Regions from separate parts of the Homo sapiens genome. Here region 1 is linked to region 2. Evidence: promoter capture Hi-C in 16 types of primary human blood cells and fetal thymus (Javierre and others, 2016). All regions are on one chromosome and are shown on one strand. Each heading gives the region's core, a stretch centred on a gene start or on the middle of the fragment in contact. The rest is flanking DNA. Distances are from core to core; before and after follow the strand shown.

What was found. Contacts are between HindIII fragments. The CHiCAGO score rates a contact against its expected background, and 5 or more counts as called.
Region 1: a contact is called between a fragment that was not itself captured here and the fragment with the promoter of ERCC6 in region 2, in 1 of 17 cell types (total CD8 T cells). The highest score is 5.2, in total CD8 T cells.

Annotation. Positions count from the first base shown.
Region 1 is chr10:49,402,721-49,409,804 of GRCh38, reverse strand. No RefSeq gene overlaps it. Among named protein-coding and RNA genes, the nearest start is that of DRGX, 10 kb to the right of the region's middle. The HindIII fragment of the contact is 6,729 bases long and covers 1-5,245 here.
Region 2 is chr10:49,537,737-49,545,244 of GRCh38, reverse strand. It overlaps ERCC6 (ERCC excision repair 6, chromatin remodeling factor), which reads left to right and starts at 6,124. Exons shown (of 21, transcript NM_000124.4): 1 at 6,124-6,283. RefSeq lists enhancers at 5,442-5,681, 5,712-5,771 and silencers at 6,192-6,481, 7,427-7,508. The HindIII fragment of the contact is 12,532 bases long and covers 3,677-7,508 here.

The DNA.
Region 1 (7,084 bases), core at 632-3,131, 130 kb after region 2:
TTTGTCCTCCCCTAATCCCTTCCTAAGTAGAAACAAAGACTCAAAAAGCCAGGAGCCTGAATGCAAGATGGGAATAAAGAGGTTGAAGAGCCAGGGATGCAGGAGGGCAGGAAGGAGGAAGGCCCTTGGGGGGAAGATGGGTGAGACAGGCCCTGCTGGGGTTGGCAAGGAGAGGGTCTCTCTTCTTGGGTAGCCAGAGAATCAGTGCCGGGTGCTACCTCACCCAACTGGTGGAGCTCTGATGTTCCTGCCGCAAGGACTTTCTGGGGGAATGGGGCCTTGGGGGCTGTCTCCCACCCTCACCAAGACTAAAAGGGCCGAGGCAGTTGAGACTGTCATGTGAGTGGACACACAACCACTGCCACACAAGAAATTGGGAAAAACATCTGTGTCACAGATGACAAATGGAAGATGAAAGCCTTATGACATTAAAAGCTCTCACAAGCTATGAACCTTTCAAAAAGAAAACAGGCGGAGAAGAGGAAGTCCCCCCACCTTGGCCCGGCACAAACAACTTAAAAAAATACAATATAGTCAATATATGTATGATAAACTGTTTTAGCCTGTAAAAATGGAAAAAAGAAAAAACCCTGAGATAAAACAAAATGCCTTTTTGTGTGGCTTGTCAAATCCAGGCACCTGGCATGTGGAGAAATTCCACCATCCCCGAGGTCCTCGGGTTTTAGATTGCTCTCCAGGAGGGCAGACATCCTGCCCTGGTGGCGGGCTCAGAGCCAAAGGCAAGGCCGATAAATAAGTGATGGGATTTCTGGGCACAGAGAGGCAGCTGGGATTACGGTAAATGAAACCTGAACATCGAGGCTCCCACTCACCACTGGACCTGCACAGGTGGATACTCCAAATGATCTCCTTTTGTGCACCCTCACTATAGTTTCATTATGGTCCATTAAACAGCAATAATTAAAACAAAATATATTGGATTTGTTTATCCTGGACTTTGCAAGGAAATGAGATTTGCAACGGTGTTGGTGCACAGTTGAGGACTACAGGACTTGTAATTAGCAGGGTAATTAAGGAGGTGTCGCCTTTTTACTGCAACGGTGAACTTCTCAGGGATAATGAACTCTCCTGGTGGAGGGGAGTCCGGCTGGGGGTAGCCATGGGGACCAGGGGCTGCCTATTGCTGGTCCAGCCAGTAGGGGAGCTGGGGCTCATTTACGTAACAAAATGCTGCATGCCAGGTGCTGTTCTAGAAGCCAGGGTGCACCGTGGAGCTTGCATGAGAGCACTGAGACAGACACCAAGCATGTGCCAATAAAGCATTTGAGAAGGACTTAACAGCTAAGCAGGAAACCAAAGCAAGAATAAAGGTGGAGAGTAGTGGGGACGAGAATTGGGCTTCTTTCGTCTCGGAAGTCTTCTCTTGAAGAGAAGACTTTAAGCCGAGATTAGGATGAAGTGAGGGCCAGAGTCTTGAAGGCCACCCAGGGGCAGCTTTCCAGACAGTGGGAAGGGCAAGGACTGGTGGGAAGGTGGGTGATGGTGTCTGGCCAGGCTGGAGTGGGAACGGGGTACAGGAATGGGTTTTCTCCCCGACTGCCCCCGGTGTGATGCAGAGTGTGAGGACACCCCAGTGACCTCTTGCTCTCTACCCCCTGACACAGAAGGCAGACCTTGTCCCCACTAATTTATTCAATAAAGGCCCTCTCTCCAGGCTGTGTACCTCAGGTGGAGCTAGAGGCAGAGGCACCTGGGAGGACATATTCTTGAGTTGGAGTTGTGAGGTCCAGGGCACATCTCCAGCTTCACCTGTGGTGCCCACCTAAAGGAGAAGGGGTGCCCAGCTACTGTGGGGCTAGGGAGGTAGAATGAACTCCATCATCTGTCCCTTCATCCATCCATTTTTTCATTCCTCCTTCCTCCTTCCATCCACCCACCTATCCATCCATTCTCCACCCAGCAGGCATTTGCAATTTCTGATACCCCAGGCTGTTCCAGGGCCTTAGTAGGAGCAGGAACACCCAGATTGGCCCTGGCTCCTGCCATCCACATGAAGCTCTCTCCAGCGGAAAAGGAGCTACTCCGTCTGCAGTTTGGTGCCACCTGGTGGCAGCTGTTGGCTCTGGCTGAAATCAGTGAGGATGATTCTGGGCTGGGTGGCTCTGTGCAACTTCAGGACAGCAGCAGCTGTTTCAGAAAGTACCAAGTAGGTTAATGCCTCTTCTCAGCCCAGTCTGAGGAAGTTGAGCTGGGAGAATGTTGGGGATGCAGAGACCCCTCCCTGCCCCCACTTCCCTTTTCCCACGATTGGTGGCAGGCTACCTGGCTTCCCACTGTTTCCCCTGTGCTCCCTCGGAGGCAGTGGTTACTACTCTGAATTTACATTTTTATGGAGTTTATAGTTCTGTCCAGTGACCCAGAAAGTATGGCCACTGAGGAGTCTCTCTGTAGGGCTGTAGGCAGAGAGCCCCATCTGCTGCTGACAGCCCTCTGAGACCGTGGGAGGAGCCAAGCGGGTTCAGGGGAGGCTCTGAGGACCACCATATGCCACATGCTAGATGACCCTGCCTGGGAGAAACAGCCAGCAGCCTTGACCTTGACTCCTTTACTATCTGAACTTGTGAGTATCTTTTTTCCTGGCCACGGAAAACAGACCCCTGACCTCATGACTGATTGTCCTAGGACCTGCCTCTACAGGCTTCCAGCTCCACCCCAGAGACCTTTAGCTTTGGGCTACCTGCTTATGACCTCTTCCCCCAGCCAGCCTCTTTACTGAAGCATCTATCTGGAGGCTCAGGGCTTTCCTACAGACCTCTGTCCCTGGCCTGGGTCCTCACATAAGTGTCCAACATCCCAGGCCGTCCCTGAGACCCTGCCTGGCTCTAACTTTGCCACCACTGACTAGAGTGGCTGACTCAGAGGCCTCTGGGATTTGCATGATGGATGTAGTTTTCCACATGGAGCTGTGCTCGTGGGTGTCTCACCACCCAAGAGGATGGGCCACTTGGTTAAGGAGGGGGAGCTGAAGGTTGCTCAAGGTGGAAGTGAAGATGAAGAGAAAAATACTTGCATGCCAATGGTCACTGATGGGCTTTCACAGAAATAGGAAGGACTGTGAGTAATTTGAGGCATCTGCAATATGCTTATTCTTTGATCAGATCATGTATCTACTGAAAATTTATTTTAAGAAAATAACAAAAATTAGCCCAGCAAATTTTTGTATTTTTTGTACAGATGGGGTTTTGCCATGTTGTCCAGGCTTGTCTGGAACTCCTGGGCCTGCCTCAGCCTCCCAAAGTGCTGGGACTACAGGCATGAGCCACCTCCCACTGCTAGTTTTAATTTTTTGTCTTATGTCCTTCGTTAAAATTTTTTTAAACATTTAATTCATTGATTGATTGATTTTCCTTTAGACAACTTTTTCTGAAGAGCATAATAAAAGGAAAGTCAGCCATAAACAAAGCACTTAAAAAATACATTCAGGGATTATAAGTTCAGCTGCCTTCAGACAAGAGACAGAAAGTATCCTTGTGTGAGGGGTGAGATATTCCAAGGGACCAGAACCTCCGCCAGATGCATTCCGTGCAATTGTTTTCACATTTTAGAAAATACAAAACGACTCTAATACTGACACTGGCCAAACAACTCAATGCTCCCACTGGCTGGACAGCCAGAAGGTAACCTTTGCCTAAAGTAAGAAATGAGGGTCCCCTTCCCTTCACCCCTTCTGCATTCCTACCCCCCAACTCCAAACACAATTTCCTGGTTAAAGGGGCGAGGACATGAGAGCCAAGGCAGGTGCTCCTGGGAGAGCCATTGCAGGGAATGGGGAGTAGGCATTACTTGGACACAGCAGAGTTTAGCATAGATGTTGCCAGACAGAGTCTGGACCTGGGTGGGGACAGGCAGGAGGAGAAGGAAAAGGGGGAAGAGGGACAGAAGGGAGGGGAGAGGGAAAGGGGTGAGGAGAGAGGGAGAGGGAGTGGGAGGGAAGGGAAAGAGGAAGGGAAGGAGGGAGTGGAGGGGAGAGTAGGGAGAGAGGGTGGGAAAAAGGGAAGAGGAGGAGGAGAGAGAAAAGGAGGAAGGAGAGAGAGGGAGAGAGAGAAAGACGGGGGGCATTTCAGGAGTGAGGACAGATATGCAGATGTGGAAGGGCTGCCCCCCTCCTCTGTTTTCTGAAAGGCTGTCACAGTTGCTAACCACCACCATCAGCTGTGGAGAATGTTACCATTTCACACAGTAGTTCTTCCATGATGGGAATCCTTTTGGCTTTGCAGATGGGAAAAATGATGCTCAAAAAGCTAAGACAACCAAAGAGCTGGAAAGCAGCAATAAGGATTTGGGACATGAAGCCCCATATCCATTCTATGACTTCAGCTGCAGAGTGGTGGGAGAGTAGCCATTGGGATGGTTTGTGGGTGCAGTCAAGAGAAGCAGGCTAGGGAGAAGTGCCTTCCCACTGCTGCAGCCTTTCCTGTAAGACTGGAGAGGGTGTTCACCTGGCTCGCACACCGTGTATCCCCATGACCATGTAGAAGGTGACTCTCTAAAGGCCCTCAGCAACCTTTAGTAACAGATACAGGAAAGAAGAGACAATTGATTGTCCCTCTTTAATTCATGCGATTATTCAAGGCCTGACTTGTCCCAGAGAGCACTGAAGGACACCAGCCCAGCACTGCAGGGAGGCACTGGCTTTGTTCGCTGTCTGAGGCACTTATCTCCAAATGCTTTGTTCACGGCTATGTCCTCTGTGACTTGAAGCTGTAGATCTTGTCTTATTAATGTATGCATTGAACAGATCTTTATTTTATGCCTACTAGGTGCCAGCACTGCTAAGCCCATGCTGACCTGCTGTTTACAGTCAGCATTTACAGTCTAGTTGGGGAAATAATATTGGTAAACACACATACACGAACACACACAAATATTATATTAAAAGGTTTAAGCACTGTGAAGGAAATGACATCTCTTTTCTTTTGCCCCCATGTAAGGCTGGCATGAACAGGGTTCTCAGTGAGCATCTGTTGAAGAAATGAGTGCATAAGGGAGAAGAAGAATGTGCAGGCTACAGGAGGGGCCTCCATCCTCCAGCAAAAGGGAGGCCTGGTCCTGAGCTGGGCTGGTGTGGCGGGGGAGTGAAGACGCCATGGACAGCCTGGCTGGCTGGGACTCCCTGAGCCCAAGCTGCCGGGGCTGAGGGGCTGCCTTGGACAGCTGAGGTCCTCTCCAGGGCTGCATCCAGGGGACCTACTCCCTGTTGCTGGAGGTCTCGATTTGGCAAGCTTTGCTACAGTGTCTGTACGAGGCCCTCCCAACACCCCAACCTCCCCAGGTCCCCAGGTACATCTGCTGAATGTTACCTGACCACCGAAACGGGGCTGCACAGCTGTCTGAATAATGGATAAGGAGGCTGATGGATGGGTGGGCAAAGGTGCATGCCTCCCTGTGTGTTACCTTGCCTCTCGCCAGGCTGGCCTGTGGGGGCTGCAGGCTGATTGGGGATGGGGCTGAAAAGTGGGAATTGCCTGGGCCAGCCTTGCCTAGACAGCAGACAATTTCATGGAATAAATATTTCTATTGCGATCTAAATGTGCTCTGAGAGTCTGCTGTTGAGTGAGACTGAGGCCACGGGGAGGAGAGGGAGGCAGTGCCCCACCCCTGGGAAATGTGCTGAGGAGTCCTGTTATGGCCTGGCTATGCCATGCAAGGTCATGGCCAACAGAGTCACCAAGAGCAGAGCAGTGAGGTGTTGGGGAGGGCAGAGGGCAGTCCTGGAGAGGTGGGACCGATGTGGATGGGAGTGGGCTGGTCAGGTGGGGAGACGGAGGGCCCTGCTGATCCAGGATTGCAAGAGCATGACAGTGAAGTCACAGCTGAGAAGTATTCACTGTGTGTGTCTTTGCGTGTGTGAGAGAGTGGGAGGGGGAGAGAGAGAGGAGAGAGAGAAAGAAGGGAGGGAGAGAAAGAGAAAGGGAGGGAAAGAAGGAGAGAGAGAAAGAGGAGAGAGAGAAAGAAGGGAGGGAGAGAAAGAGAAAGGGAGGGAAAGAAGGAGAGAGAGAAAGAGGAGAGAGAGAAAGAAGGGAGGGGGAGAAAGAGAAAGGGAGGGAAAGAAGGAGAGAGAGAAAGAAGGAGAGAGAGAAAGAGAGAGAGAGAGAAAGAAGGAAAGAAAGGAGAGACAGAAGGGGAGAGAAAAAAGGGGAGAGCGAGAAAGAGAGACAGAAAGAAGGAGAGAAAGAAGAGAATGAGAGAGAAGGAGAGAGAGAAAGAAGGGAGAGAGAGGGAGAGGGAGAGAAGGAGAGAAAGAGCAAGAGAGACAGGGAGAGAAAAAAGAGGAAGAGAGAGAGGGCTGGAAAGAGAAAGAATGAAGTGGTGAAAGGAAGAAAGAGAAACGGGGAGAGGGAAAGAGAGAAAGAAGAGAGAGTGCTGGGGGCAGCGAGAATAACCTACTGATGCCTGGATCAAGTACTGACAGGCAGACCTTGTCAATAGGGAGGTTTAAGAGGCCAGACTTGACCCCAAGTTCTCCTGGTTGAAAACCCAAACGCCTCCTGCTGCAGCTATGTACATAATCCAAGTCTTAGAAATGGAAAAGATTCATTGTGTTTGCTAATTATTCATGTAGCAAACTTACTTCATTCCTTCCGTGGTAATTTCCATTAAATTCCACACATTTATCGAGCACTTAATATGGGCAATTGAACGTGCGTTTTGTTTGAGGGGAGCCATGTCCTATTTAGGGGGCAGCAGCCGGGGGTGTCGGGCTGGGGATCAGGAGGACTGGCCGCCAACCCTGCCTCTGCTGTTCCCAGTCCCCTCTCCATGTACCACAGCTCCATTCAAGTCATATGAATGCACCCAAAGAGCTTTGCACCCAAGAGCTGACCTTGAAAGCTATTTTTTTTTTCTAGAGGTTTATTGGTGAAATAATTTAGACTTGGAGACTGAGATCTTTCTTCTATTTCTGGCCGGTCCCAATTTGAGATTTCCTTAGATTGATTTAGTTTTCTTATTAGCAATTCATTATTGCATGTTAATAGTAGCTAGACTTACCAACTAAATACTTATAAAAGTATTTTGCTCCAAGTCAGTGACTCCAGTGAATCAATTAGAGCAGTCTTGGATG
Region 2 (7,508 bases), core at 4,875-7,374:
TGCATGGAGTAAACTAATAGAAGCCTGAAGTAATCTTTTTGACTTTTTTTCTTAAAGTGTTGCTGATCCTTTGTTTTGTTTTTCACAGTCAAGAAAACTTTTATTTACAACTTGTAGCAGCTGAGTATGCCTATAAACAAAATTTGAAGCATATTTCTCTCTACCTGATTTCTCCAGAATTTGGAAACTATTTGTGAGTATTCTTATGGCAATATAGTTATTTACATAAGTGCAGTAAGAATCTGTTTTCTTTTACAACAGGACACAGTTGGAGGAACTGATTATTTTACCAAGCCTTTGACTGGAATGGCATGCTTTCAAATATAAACAAACTGCTTCAAGGAATCAAACTTGACTTATAGAGACAATAAAAGCCCCTTGGGAAAACTGGCCTCATACCTTGTCTACACAGTCCTTGTACAGGGTTCTTGGTCTGTAATAAGTAAAGAATGCAACTTTCTGAGAGGCCCAGGAGCACCAATATCTTGGGACCTCAGGAGGAGAGGAATTTACCCAACTTACAGGTATTTGATGGCAGCAACCCATGGCTGGGCTCAGTTTTAAAAAAAGTCTTATTTAAAATTCCTTATAGAACAAAGATCCATCAAATCCAATTACAAAAAAAAAACCCATGTGAAAAATAATTATTCTTGCTGCCCTTTTTACGAAGAATCAGGCCAAGTATAAAACTAAATTTATTTAGTTGGAAGCAAATCAGTCTTACCATGATTTGTCTTTAATAAAAGTGGGAGCCTGAAGAGAGAAAAAAGTTATGTTTCAACTATGGTACACCTGTTATTAGATTCTAGTCTCATCAGTTATTTTTAAGGGTTTTTTCTTCCTTGCAATTTAGACTAACCCTACTTTTTCCTGCCAACTAACCAGTGATCTCTGGCTGCTGCTCAGAAAAAAAATAACAGAAATGGGTAATGTAAAAATCTGGATCAATATTCTAATTCTAATTGGAACATATAGCATGTACAGCAACTTCATATCAGCTTGCCCAGTTCCAGCTGTTGCCGAGTTCATGGAAAGCCTTCTAATTTAGTTTACTTGGGATAGTTTTACTTATTTTGCTTTACCGTTGTGGAACATATTGCTGTTGTACTCCGTGTGGGAGTGCAGGATAAGCTTACTCAATGTTTAATTAAATTGAATACTTTTTAATCTTCCAGATATCACCTTTTGCCCTCAAGAGTTATGAATGTCCCTCACCATAGTGATGCCTTCTGACTGAGCTCCTCACTACCCTGAATACAAGAGACCATAATAGTTAGGTAGGAGTAGCATAGCCCTTATTCAGCTTGAAGAAGTTACAGAAGATGGATCTTTGTCCCTCTACTACCCTTTGGATTAGGCGTTCCCTTGTAAAAGGGAAGGGAGAAATATGTCAGAGGCATTTGAACCAGAGTGATTCCATCTTGAATTGGGGCTGGGTGAAATAAGGCTGAGACCTACTGAGCTGTATTCCCAAGAGGGCAGGCATTCTAAGTCACAGGATGAGGTAGGAGGTTGGCACAAGATACAGGTGACAAAGACCTTGCTGATTAAACAGTTTGCGGTAAAGAAGCTGGCCAAAACCCACGAAAACCAAGATGGCAATGAAAGTGATGTCTGGTCATCCTCACTCTTCCTTATATGCTAATTATAATGCATTAGCATGCTAAGAGACACTCCTATCAGCACATGACAGCTTACAAATGCCATGGCAATATCAGAAAGTTACCCTATATGGTTTAAAAATGGGAAGAACCCTCAGTTCTGGGAATTACCCACCCCTTTCCTAGAAAACTCAGGAATAATCTACCCCTTCTTTAGCATATAATCAAGAAATAACTATAAGTATTCTCATCAAGCAGCCCAAGTTGCTGTTCTGCCTATGGAGTAGCCATTCTTTATTCCTTTACTCTCCTAATAAACTTGCTTTCACTTTACTCTATGGACTTGCCCCGAATTCTTTCTTACTCAAGGTCTAAGAACTCTCTCGGCATCTGGATCGGGAATCCTTCCTGGTAACAGTTCACAATGGATGGTTTTATACATTCATTGCTTTTAAGCTTGCTGATTCATTTATTCAACATACATTTAACATGTTTTTCTAGTGGTTGCCAACACAGTTCTAAATAATATGCTTTTGCTTCTTTTTTGATTTATAATTTTTACAAAGTATTTATTGTGTTTCCAATACATCTAATTATTTTTCATGAGTTTTCCCCATTTATAAGGATCAGAGAACCAAACCGGTTTTGTTGCACTGCCGTTACCCAGAAGTTTTGAAAAGTGAGAGTCAACTCAGACCTCTGTTCTGTAGGTCATTGGGAGAATTCCTTATATTGAACACGAAATGTGAAATAAAGGCGCAAGGATGAATATCGTCATAGTTAAACAAGTTAACATTAGTAAAGCACTCAAGACAATGAAACCACCTTTGCAAAAATTATATCAGTTAGAAAATTATGACAGTGAAAGAGGTCTGAGTTAACGCCCCCATTCCAACACCTATCTTGCCTTTCCCTTAATTATTTCTAAGCTACTGGGGCCAGCTAACTTTGAGAGACATTTAGGCTATAGTTTACATGATAACAGACCTTGCCTGAAACTCAACTGTTTTTGTAAAGCTAATGGGAAGCTATCAGGCTGTGGGGGAGGAGAGGAGCCTGAGTCCTGCTAAGGCGCAGATATGAACGATTGTCAGTCATTATTCTGGAGGTTATAAGATACTCAACTTTCCCAATTACTCCTGCAAATAACACCACTGATATGGTTTGGCTGTGTCCCCACCCAAATCTCATCCTGAATTGTAGTTTCCATAATCCCTACATGTTGTGGGAGGAAGCCGGTGGGAGATAACTGAATCGTGAGGGTGGTTACCTCCATGCTGTTCTGATAGTGAGTTCTCACGAGATCTGATGGTTTTATAAGGGGCTTTCCCCCTCCTTCACTCTGCACTTCTCCTTGCTGCCACCATGTGAAGTAGGACATGTTTGCTCCCCCTGTCACCATGATTGTAAGTTTCCAGAGGCCTCCCCAGCCATGCTTAACTGTGAGTCAATTAAACCTCTTTCCTTTATAAATTACCCAGTCTTGGGTATGTCTTTATTAGCAGCACGAGAGCAGACTAATACAACCACTATTTGTAGCTTTTTGAGATATCTTTCCAGGTTTTTTGCATGTCTGACACCCATGGCTCCACCTGGACCGCCAACCCCACTCCCACAGCCCCACCCAGAAGTGATTCAGACTGCAGGAGGACAGCTTTGACTCCCCCTATGATTTCATCTCAGCCTCAACCAATCAGCAGCAAGCACCTGTTACCTGGCCACTCCCACCCCTTCCTCCAAACTGCGTTTGAAAAACCCCCAGCCTATGAGCTTCGGACTTTGGATCAGATGACCTGAGCATGCACTCCATCTCCCACCTGGCATGGTCGGCCTCGTGTCTATTAAGCTCTTTTTCTACCACAATGCTATGGTCTTTCTTTATGCAGTGGGCAGGAAGAACCCCTTGGGTGGGGTGTTTAAAATAATGCCCAGCTTAGAGTAAGGGCTAGGAAATGGTAGGGAAAATGGATTAAAATCCAAATCAATAACTACTATAATAATGACATTAGAAATATTGGTTTGGGGGTACACAGGAGATGCAAGAGCCTATTGCTGTCAGAGGGTAGGGGAAAGCTTCAGAAAAGAGAAACTTTGTCTGAGTTTGGAATGGGTAAGAGAATTCTAAGCAGAGGGACCTGCTTGTAAGATCACAGAAGTGACAGAATAACAAGTAGGGGTATGTGGGAAAAGATTAATAATTGCCTCTCCCCCAAAGTTCCAGTTTATAGTTTGTCCATTTCTGTGGTATAAATACTCCTACTATGGCTGATTTCAAGCTATTAATGTGAAGTCAACAAAGGCAGAGTTGGTGCTATGGGCTAAACTGGGTGCCCCCCAAATTCATATGCTGAATCCCTAACCCTCAATGTGACTATTTGGAGACAGGGTCTTTAGGCAGCAAATCTGGTTAAATGAGATCATAAGGGTGAGTCCCTAATCCAATACGGCTGATGCCTTAGAAGAAAGGGAAGACAGAGCCCTCTCTCTACCCCATGTAAGGACACAGTGAGAAGGTAACCATTTGCAAGCCATGAGGAGAGCTTCCCCTAAATGAGCTAAATCTGCCTGCATTTGATCTTGGACTTCCCAGCCTCCAGAACTATGAGAAACAAATGCCTGTTGTTTAAGCTGCCCAGTCTATGGCATTTGTTATGGCAGCCTGAGCTAAGGCAGCTGGGAAGAGGTGAACAGTATGCTTGCTAGGCCGTAGAAGCCAATTGTAGCACACCCTTCCTGGGAGAAGAGTAAGTAGTTCCCTAAATCCTGAGCATAGGCATCCAGGGAGTGAAGGACACAAGTGATGCAGAAAAATTAGATGGGGCAGGAGTATAAAAGGGCTTGGACGACTTGCTAAATAACTTGGGACCTCATTTAACTAAATTCCCTCATTAAAGACCCTATCTTCAAATACAGTCACATTCTGAGGTCCCGGGGTGGGGGTGGGGAGTGGCGGTTAGGACTCCAGCATATGAATTTTGGGGAGGGGACACAATTCGGCCCTTAATAGCTCCAGTTGTGCCACCCTGAGTTGTTTTCCTGAACCCCGCCCACGTCTTTGTAAATAATAACTCTCAACTTCCCCTTTTGAGTGGACCATTTTTTCCTGTCCAAATTCTGATATAGGAAGGGTCTCCAAAATAGCTGCAAAGGGAACCTCAGTCTCAAAAGTTGGGATCCACTATATATCTGCTTTTACTTTCAAGCATTGAAACTAATGTCAATCAACTGCCTTTCTATTCTTAATATTTTATCCAAGAAATCGCTAGAATTCTTTCTCCTTTAAAAAAAAAAAAAAGCAAGTTACAAGCCGGGCGTGGTGGCTCACACCTGTAATCCCAGAACTCTAGGAGGCCGAGGCGGGTGGATCACCTGAGGTCAGGAGTTCGCGGACAGCTTGGCTAACATGACGAAACCCCGTCTCTACTAAAAACACAAAAATTAGCTGGGCATGGTGGCAGGCGCCTGTAATCCCAGCTACCCGGCAGGCTGAGGCAGGAGAATCGCTTGAACCTGGGAGGAGGAGGTTGCAGTGAGCCCACATCGTGCCATTGTACTCCATCCTGGGCGACAAGAGCAAAACTCCGTCTCAAAAACAAAAACAAAAACAAAACAAACAAAAAAACCCACTACCACCAACAAAAACAAGTTACATTGTGGGTTGGGGCCGCTGACAGGAGGAATAAGATGATGTTATGGAGCATTTCCTAGTCCCCTTTCCGACCCCATTTCCCTATTGTCCGACTTCAGGCTTCCAAGTGAGGACAGCACTTCCCAGGCAGTGACCCGCAGTCACTGCCCTCCCAGAGGACGTCCTGCCTCGCGGCCCTGGAAAGTCCACCTTCTCCTAGCACCGATCCTGAGCTGAGAAGCTCTGTCTGGTACAGCCATCCTGCATCGTGGGCTGCTTCTTTCCCCAGGCGAAGCTCAACTTCCTCCCATTGTTCTGAACCTCTGTGTGGACATCTTCTTTCTTCAAACGCACCACGGTAAAATTCTCGCCTGCCTCGAAACCCCGCCTACCTCTGAGATCTGAGGACGGATACTAAACGCTGGACTTAAGGCAATGTACACATGTAAGCAGGCTCTGTAGGCACTCACTCCGCCCAGGTGCGCGCGTGGCGGAGGGGGAACAGAGAAGCAGGACAGCTCTCCATCCTTCCCGTGTTCAGTCGTGGGAGACAACAAGAGAGGTCACAGCCTGGCGACCAAAAAGTGCGGCTAACTTCCCTGCCCAAGCTGACTTTCTCTGCAGGGTTCAAGGTTAATTGTGAGGATTTACATTCGCATGGCACACCCGCATCCCCCTCTACGTGGAAATATGTCTTAACTTTCATAACTGCCTTGCCAGCAGGGTATTTTTCGCTAGGGGCGAAGCGTCCTTCGCAAGCCACCCAGCTGACCGGCAGCGGAGACAGCTTTCTCGCCCTGCTCGCACGCAAGTAGAAAGGCGCTGCTGAGCCCGTCCCTCCAAACCACGTGGTCTTGCCCGTGCTTAAAAACAAACGCTGAGCCAGGCGCATGCGCCACGGGCCTCCCCGCACCAGCAGAAGTCGGAGTCGCTGTTGGGGGCGGTGTCTATGGTTGAGCTGAGGGCGCAGGCGCCACGGCCCGTCGAGCTGGGTTCCAAGGCGGCTGGCGGCGGTAGCGTCTCTGTTTCCTTGTGGGCGCTCGCGCGGCCCTGGGTGAGTGTTCGGGGGTCCCGGCCGAATGTCGGGCAGGGGGTGTCGGGGCCCAGCTCAGGCTTCTCGGGCGGGCCGCGGCCCCGCGCCTTGGCCTCGCCGTGGTGATTGAGCCTGTCAGCGAGGACGCACTGTAGCGGGTCTTAGGGCCAAGTGCCCGCTTCCGGCGGCCTCACCTGAGACCGGAAGTAGCGCCAAGGAGCGCTCACCTGAGGCGGCTTGAGTCCCTGGCCGGCCAGCGACCCAGCTACTTCTCCGACTTTGTATAAGGCCCCCTGCGCGCAGGGTCAGCTGGGTCCTTTTTGATCTCGATTAAAATGCTGGAGCTGTTATTTTAAAGAGAGTCGGGCTAGATGTACGTCCGACGTTTTGGGCGTTGATAGAGTCAAATTGATAAGAGTGTGGGCGGATGAGGCAGGCCGCCTGTAAATGCTGCTGTTACGTGACTTCCACGCAGCGTCTTAACTGCTGTCATCCTGTGACAGGCAGCCCTCGCTTTTCTCCTCAACTTTTCCCATCATCTTCTTGTTGCTTTGTCTCCTCCAATCCATTATCCGCACAGTTGTCCAGGTGGTCTCTGGCATAAAGTAGGTCATGCCATCATCAGCCTACTTAACAGTTTTCAGAGTCATTCCATTGCACTGGGAGTGGAATCCATGCTCGTGTTTTCCCAGGCCTTGTGTGATTTGGCCCTTGCCTGTCCCCTCTCAGAACTGTGCCTGTGTCCGACCAACCCTCCAAATGAGACCCAGCTTGCCCCTGGCTGCGGGAGCCCCAGTGATGGGGGAGGACGGTGAAGATACTAGTGTCCCAGATGATTAAGCCTTAGAAGATACTCTGCAAGACTTAGGCCATGAACGGAGCCCTTCTCTGCTCTTCTTAACTCAAAGTTAAAAATAAAGTCAAAAATTCGGTGTTCCAGCCTTCTTGCATTTTCACAAGTGCATCAGCTCTTTCTAGTCTTAAAAGTTACGCACGTTGTTGGGAGGCCGAGGTGGGTGGATCACCCGAGGTCAGGAGTTCGAGACCAGCCTTACCAACGTGGTGAAACCCTGTCTTTACTAAATACGAAAAATTAGCCGGGCATGATGGCATATGCCTGTAATCCCAGCTAATCGGGAGGCCAAGGCAGGAGAATCGCTTGAACCCGGAAGGCGGAGGTTGCAGTGAGCCTGGCGGAGCCTGGCGGAGGTTGCACTCCAGCCTGGGCAACCGGAGCGAAATTCCG